2 separate regions of the Homo sapiens genome follow, and region 2 is linked to region 1. Evidence: promoter capture Hi-C in 16 types of primary human blood cells and fetal thymus (Javierre and others, 2016). All regions are on one chromosome and are shown on one strand. Each heading gives the region's core, a stretch centred on a gene start or on the middle of the fragment in contact. The rest is flanking DNA. Distances are from core to core; before and after follow the strand shown. Region 1 holds the start of RWDD2B (RWD domain containing 2B). Region 2 has its middle 6.9 kb from the start of ADAMTS1.

The links. The method cuts DNA at HindIII sites, captures the fragments that hold promoters and counts their contacts. A CHiCAGO score of 5 or more calls a contact.
Region 2: a contact is called between a fragment that was not itself captured here and the fragment with the promoter of RWDD2B in region 1, in 1 of 17 cell types (fetal thymus). The highest score is 6.1, in fetal thymus.

Annotation. Positions count from the first base shown.
Region 1 is chr21:29,017,628-29,021,668 of GRCh38, reverse strand. RWDD2B (RWD domain containing 2B) reads left to right here and starts at 2,320. Exons shown (of 5, transcript NM_016940.3): 1 at 2,320-2,458. The coding sequence starts at 2,392. It overlaps LOC124905005 (a long non-coding RNA gene), which reads right to left. Exons shown (of 2, transcript XR_007067836.1): 1 at 3,422-4,041; 2 at 341-2,756. RefSeq lists an enhancer at 2,230-2,479. The HindIII fragment of the contact is 4,408 bases long and covers 1-3,365 here.
Region 2 is chr21:26,850,454-26,854,159 of GRCh38, reverse strand. No RefSeq gene overlaps it. Among named protein-coding and RNA genes, the nearest start is that of ADAMTS1, 6.9 kb to the right of the region's middle. RefSeq lists an enhancer at 1,252-1,819. The HindIII fragment of the contact is 2,143 bases long and covers 1,150-3,292 here.

The DNA.
Region 1 (4,041 bases), core at 1,071-3,570:
CCACCATGTCCAGCTAATTTTTGTATTTTTAGTAGAGACGGGGTTTCTTCATGTTGGTCAGGCTGGTTTTGAATTCCCAACCTCAGGTAATCTGCCCGCCTTGGCCTCCCAAAGTGCTGGGATTACAGGCATGAGCCACTGTGCCCGGCCCATAATTTTCTTTTATTTTTACCTTTATGTTTAGCCCTCTTCATACATACACAGAAATGTGCAAATATAAGCTCTTTGAGAGATGCGACATCTTTGTCTTGTTCATGGCTATAATTAGTACCTGGAAATGCCTGGAATATAGTAAGTGCTCGATAAATATTTATTGAAAAGAAAGTCATGAGCAATAAAATGCTATATAAGAACGTTCACAGCAGCTTTATTTATAATAGCCAAAAAACTGAAGACAGCCCAGGTTTCTATCAAAACAAGAATGGAACTGGTATATTCATATGATGGAATACTACTGAGCAATCAAAAGAAAGTGATACACATGATATCAGATGAAAATATTACCCTGAGTGAAAGAACCCTTACACAAAAATATCTATTGCATGACTCCAACCATATGACGTTCTATAACAAGAAAAATAAGTATGGTGGGGGAAAAAATCAGAACAGTGGTTACCTTTGGGGAGAACTGGTTGGGAACTAAGAAAGGGCATGAAAGAACTTTCTAGGGTGATGGTAACGTTCTATATGTTAATATGGCTTGAGTTCCATAGGCGTGTGCATTTAAAAACTGATGTGTATTTAAGGTATGCATTTCATTTTTACCTTAAAAAATCCTTAATTTGAACTCCAATGATGTGCATTAGAGGTACTTAGAAGCGTACTGTCTGCAGTTTACTTTTAAATGTATGAAAACAGATAGATTGATGAGGTATGTGACAAAGCTGGTAGAGTAAAATTCTGTACTCTCCAGGTCAGTGTTTTTCAACCTCAACACTATCAACATTTTGGACCAGCAAATTTGTTGTTGTCGGGGGATGTCCTGTTCATTGTAGGAAGTTGAGGAACATCCCTGTGCTCTACCTACCCCATGCCAATACCATCCTTCCAGTTGTGACAACCCAAAATGTCTTCAGACACTGCTAAATAGAGGGGAAATCCATCCTTCCCCTTCTCTTGAGGTCTGCTCCACTGTAAAATTCTCTCGACTTCGCTTTACACTTGAATTTTTTCATAATAAATGTTGGAGGAAAAAATAAATTATGACATTGAAAAACGCTCATGAAACACTATGCAGAAGACGTAGTTTATGAAGACCTACAATACATACTGTCGTATTTTTGTTTAAAAAAAAAAAGTGGAGGGGAGACCTAGCAGTGATATTTAGTATTGCTAAATGTCAATGTTTACAAATCTTATCTATGACATTTCTAAAATGAATATTATAAAGTGTATTGCATATAGTTGGATTGGGAAGAAAAACATTTCTAATTATTCTCCTGTCAGCATCTCCTTCAAACTACCCTTTTATTAACAGGGATAGATATGCATTCACACGGTTCCTCCCAGCTTGGTTAATGGGCAAGAACACCTAAGATAGCCAAGGCCACCATGCATCCAGGCTCACATCTCCCTAATTGCCCTCCTCCATGATTCAGGGACAAGGAGGATCACCATCGTGTGGGAAGATACTAGAAATGTAGAATTTGGAACCCCACCCCTACCTACGGAATCCTGATCTGCACTTCAACAGGATCCCCGAACTATTCCTAGGCGCGTTCGAATTTGAGGAACATTAACGGACCAATTCTTTGTCCCTGAAAAGTGCCCGTTATAGAGGCGGCCGCTGGGAAATGACAACGGGGTTGGCATGGAGAGGTATTAAGTAGAAAAACTCCGGCCGGGCACGGTGGCTCAGGCCTGTAATCCCAGCACTGTGGGAGGCCGAGGCCGGTGGATCACCTGAGGTCAGGAGTTCGAGACCAGCCTGGCCAACATGGTGAAACCCCATTTCTACTGAAAAATACAAAAATTATCTGGGCATGGTGGTGGGCGCCTGTAATCCCAGCTACTCGGGAGGCTGAGGCAGGAGAATCGCTTGAACCCAGGAGGCGGAGGCTGCAGTGAGCCGAGATCGCGCCACTGCACTCCAGCTTGAGAGACACAGCGAGACTCCGTCTCAAAAAAAAAAAAAAGGAAGAAAGAAAGAAGAAGAAGAGAACTCTGCGACTGAAAAGTACCTAGCAGGGACAACGCATTCCCTACGTCCTTCCAAGTGCAGACACCAACACCGGCGGACGCGGCTCCCAACAGGCGAGCCCCAGCTTCCGGTCCGCGGCCTTGGACGCGCATGCGCCGCATGCTTTTTTTTTTTTTTTCCGGTAGGTCGCCAGCTGAGGCGGTTTGTAAGTTTTGGGTCGCAGTATGCTAGAATTTTGAGGCTCCCTTCTGATGAAAATTGAGCTGTCCATGCAGCCATGGAACCCGGGTTACAGCAGTGAGGGGGCCACGGCTCAAGGTGAGTCTCGCCTCAGCTAGCGCCAGTGGTGACCGCCACGGGGGTTTCCCACGCTGCAGCGCCCAGTGCAACCCTTTGGGAACGTGCCCGGCATGGCGGCCCCGGTTCCCCTCACTGCATGCGCCCATCGGTCGGCTCGGTCCTCGGCGTTGCTTCCCGGCTTCTGCAGCCCTGCTCCAGCCGGGGACCTCGCCCCGGGGGCAATCAGGGTGCGAGGGCGGCTGCGTGCTGGGCTTTCTTCCTGAGAGCGTCTTGGCTTGGGTCGCGGGGTACCCTGCTCTGTTCTTCAAAAAAAAATCTGCAAGGAAAAGATATTATTCCACTCAGAAATCTCAAGTTTCAGTCTGCGTTCTCTTAAATATATTTTATTTTTTAAAAAAATAATAAAGGCGAGCTCTTACTATGTTACCCAGGCTGATCTTGAACTCCTGGGCTCAAGCAGTCCCCCTTCCTCTGCCTCCCAAAGTGCTGGGATTACAGGCGTGAGCAATCGCGCCCGGCCACAGTCTATTATCTTACAGCATTCGCTGAAATCTTGAATCATAAAATTATCTTGAGGGTTTTTTGGAAGGACTGAAATCTCTTAAGCGAAAATAATTTGGCAGATAAATGACCTGTGACATCACTCCCGTAGTTGTCCGTTCAAGAGTCCCTCCGTCCCGTTCTTCTTTGCTAATCCCATTTCATCTTCGATACCTCCAATTCAATAGCACCCTCTCCCAACTTTACTCACTCCCTGGGAGACTTTAAACAAATATATAGTTCCAAATAAGTGTTGACTCCCAAGATTATATATCTAGCTGAGTCTCTCGTAGACTTCAAAACTATACATCTAACTGCCTGCTAGACCTCTCTATTTAACAGGTGTCTTAGTAGGCACTTCATTACTTGTGTCTAAAACCAAGCTTCAGCTCCCCATGACCATCAACGTCTAAATAAATGGCAGATCCATACTTTCAGTACCTTAAAGCCCCGGAGTCATTCTTCCGTGTCTCATGTAATTCATCTGTAAATCCTGTTGCCTCTGTTCTCTGCATGTATCCAGAACCTGAAGCTCACCAACTTGACCACTATAATCCTATCAAAGCCACCATCATCTCTCCCTAGTTATTGCGGTGTCTATATCTGGTCACCCCACTTTTCCTTTCACTTTTCTCCATAGCAGCAAGTGTGGGGATCTTCATAAGTCAAACCTCTCTTGTAGCTCTTACATGTCAGTCGGGATAAAATTCAAAATTCTGGCCATGCTTTACTAGTCCCAACATAAACTGCCCCACATTTCCTTACTAAACTCTTCTATTCCCCGTGTCCTCAGCTCACTGTGCTCTGGCCAGCTGTTCTAGCACCCTCCTTCCTCAAGGCCTTTGAATATGCTGTTCGCTTTCCCTTGAACACTCTTGGCCAAGAAAAACACATGGCCTCCTTTTTCAGTTCCTTAAAGTCTCTTCCCTACAGTCACCTTAGGAGAAAGGCCTTTCCTGACAATGCTGTGTGCAGTCTCACCCCTGCTGCCTCATTGTTTCCCTTATCCTTGTTTTCTTTTTCAGGTTTCTTCATAGCAGTTATTCACTGGGTACAAAAAT
Region 2 (3,706 bases), core at 972-3,471, 2.2 Mb after region 1:
TTAAAGTTACAGAATCTGCAAAATGTGTCACTAAATCCTCACTAAACCCTGTTGTATACCATCATATTTCTCAGTTTATTTATGGGCAAAATTACCTAAAACAGAATAGCCTTATTTAGAATTTTAATTCATTGTTTCCAGACACTGGTGACAATAATGCCATTATCTACAGTGGGTTTCTGGAAATAGAAACAAGTGTGTCTTATATTCCAATATGAACAATGTTCTAATTGAGGCAAAGTTTAATTGAGGAATAATTTCCTCACCATGGTTGATGATATAATAAATCACTTATGAAACAAAGATATGCCATTAAAACAAAGGTACATCAATCTGTACATCTATCATCACTCAAAGTACCGAATTGACACTGAGACTTATGGAATATTCAAGTTGGAGCTGTTCAATCCATTCTAGATTTAGAAACTGAGACCCAGAGAGTTGGTAACTGAGGCCATTGAGCTAATGGCTGCAACCTGGAATTGGATACTTTGATTCTCAACCTAGTCCTCTTTCTTCTCTACACCACATCACCCTTACAATGTTTTAAATACAGGTGTATATACAGTACATTGTGTTAAAGTTTAAAAGAACAGATTACCTGACTCCATCAATTATTATCTGTGTGAGCTAGCCAAACTTCTGCCTCAGTAACTTCATCAATGATATAGGGATATTAATAGCAATAAATCTACATGTGAGCATTAATTAGCTTATGTATATAAAGTAGGCATGGTATATAGTAGGCACTCAACAAATATCAGGCATTATTATTATTGTCACAGCAAAACTGTAGAAAAATATACATTCAATTATAAAGTCATTGGCAATTAGTTCCCTTCCCCTGCCAGCTGGCTCTCTTGAGTGGACTGGAGTTCTTAAGTTAGGAGCGACATAAAGGGTAGAATCAGTCTGGCAGGAAACAGCAGGCAGCCGCTGCTCTGGAAGCCAGGACATGGGACCTGAAGTGTGAGATCTCCACCTACTACACACACAATGAGCATTCCTCAAACCAAATCTCTCTAGATCAGACAGACAATTGAAAGATTCCTGGAATCATTGTTGCTATCCTGGAAATCTCAGCCAGATACCTGACTAGAATCAATATCAGATTGATATTAAACCTGAATGGACAACCACCACCAAGCTTCATAGTGAAGTTGGGCCTGGTTTTGGTTTGGCTATCACCCCTCCAGATTCCCAGAATTTTTACTATGGAGAGAGAGAGAGGTCTTCCAATATGCTATATGTTATATTTACAACATATATTGCTTTCAATATTAGATACATACACTATTGCTTCCATTTTATAAATTTGGAAAATATTTATGAAATATAATTCAGATGGTGTGATGGTTAATTTTATGTGTCAACTTAACCAGGCCAAGGGGTGCCTAGATTAAACACTATTTCTGGGTGTGTCTGTAAGCATGTCGCCAGATGCGATTAACATTTGAATCAGTGGACTCCAGTAGAGTAGACTGCTCTCCCCAATGTGGGTGGGCATGATCCAATCCACTGAAGCTCTGAATGGAACAAAAGGGACAGAGGAAGGAGGAATTTCAGAATTTCCCCTCCTTTGTCTTCCTGCCTGCTTGAGCTGGGACATCAGTCTTCTTCTGTCCTTGGACTGGGATTTATATCATCGACTCCCCTGGCTCTCAGACCTGCAGACTTGAACTAAAATCAAACCACTGACTTTCCTGAGTCTCCAGCATGGTGACAGGAGGTCTTGGGACTTCTCAGCCTTATAATCGTCTGAGCCAATTCCTCATAATCTCATTAAATACATATGTTCTATCTCTCTGAAGAATCTTGACTAATACATATGGTCAGTGTTTCTTAACAAAAGTTCCCGAAGAAATTTTAGACTTTAAGAGGCTAGGAATGAGGGGGAAATGGGGCAGAAGATGAGCAGGACAAGTATCCTTCTGAGGCACCTGCCTCTGCTGAGAACTTTACAGTCTGTAGGCCAAAAAAGGGTGTTCTCTTCTAGCAAGGGGGTGACATCTGCCTCTGCAGGGTCTAGGAGAATCTGGGGCTCATCCATCCAAATGTCTGCATTTTATGTATCAGAATCCCATAGTTTTTCTATTAGGACCCTAACTTTAATATAAAACAACTATAAGATTATACATTTTTAGATTTTCAGCATCGTCTGCTCTCTGATTGCAGGAGATAAAAGTGACTTTTATGGCATGTCTTCAAATTAAGTTAGAAAACGATGTAATCTCTGTATATAATCTCTGTATTTCCAAAATAACCTTCAAAACAGGCACTGGTAAACTTTTTTGAAGGGGCCAGATAACAAATATTTTGGACTGGTGGACATTGCTCTCTTTTGCAATTATTCAACTCTGCTTTGTATTGTGAAAGCAACCATGAAAAATACATAAGCAAATGATTGTGACTTTGTTCCAGTAAAACTTTATTTACAAGAACAGATGGTCAGCCTGAAGGTCATAGCTTGCCAGCCCCTGCTCTGAAGCAACTATCAAAAACCCATCCAATGACATGTTCCTTTCAATTGTTATTTTCCTCATACTGTCTAAGTGCCGCTGCTGCTGCATAAACCTGCTTCTCACCCCATACTACCACCTCATCCCACACAGAGACTCTTTGTCATTGCACTGACACTGCATGCCGGGGGCGGTCCCATTCCATTCACCACCAGCAAACGGGTTCTACTGCCCTCTGATCAGTGAGCAGTCCCATCTAGAAGATCTCCTGATGCTCTTTGTTTTCAACTCAGTTTAGCCCAGAAAGCACAACCTGAGAAAAGGGCTTGTGTGCATGCAGTCCCTGTAGAGGTGGGGAGGCAAGGGCAAGTAAGTTTAGGAAACAGGAGGGGGTAACTAGGAAGGAAGAGACAGAGGAGGAAGCAAATACAATGGTGCATTATCCTTCAAGTCAGGATTGTTGTCATCTCCATTTTACATATGAGGAGGCTGAGGCTCAGGGATGATCCATGGCTTCCCTGAAGCCACAAAGTAAGGATGCAGCAGTCAGAATGCCAGAATTCAAATGTGGATTACGTGGCTCTCCACCACTAGCTCCCAGGGTATTAAGTGCAGGGAACAGGAAGACCCCCAGCCTCTATGCTTAGACATTGTGCCACTTTAGAATAGTGTCCAACTCTAATCCTTTCAACAATCTTGTCCAATTATGTATTTAGAGAGATTGTCTAGGCCTTTCCAATCAACATTTCATGAATATACAAGCCTACCATCAACCAATTACGAGTGTGTCCAGTTCTCAGGGTGACCTGAGAGCCACATGGAACAAGAAAGCTTTCCAGCCAGTGTTTCCAGCAGCAAGCATCCTAACCCAGGCCTCGGAATCTGAAGATACAGTGCTCAAATATCAGTGCTTCTGAGCTACTAACCATTGTAATTGCCCAAGTAGATGGCCAATGAATTGCAATAATTCATAATTCAGTTTTTGGTTATTAATAAGATTTATTGTATCTTACACAAAAGAGCATTATAAAATGATAAATATTGTAGGATAGAGGCTGAGATATAACCAAATATTGCTCTTGATCTTTAGCAAAAATCACTTTCAAAGGACAATTGATTTTCAGCCTCTGATTAAATCCCTGCTAGTGGAAGTGTAGGGAGGTGACCAGCTCCTATCTCAATCAGCCAATCAATAATTATAAGCCGGGTGGGGAAAAAAAGCAGTAGTGAAATAGTTTAAAATATCT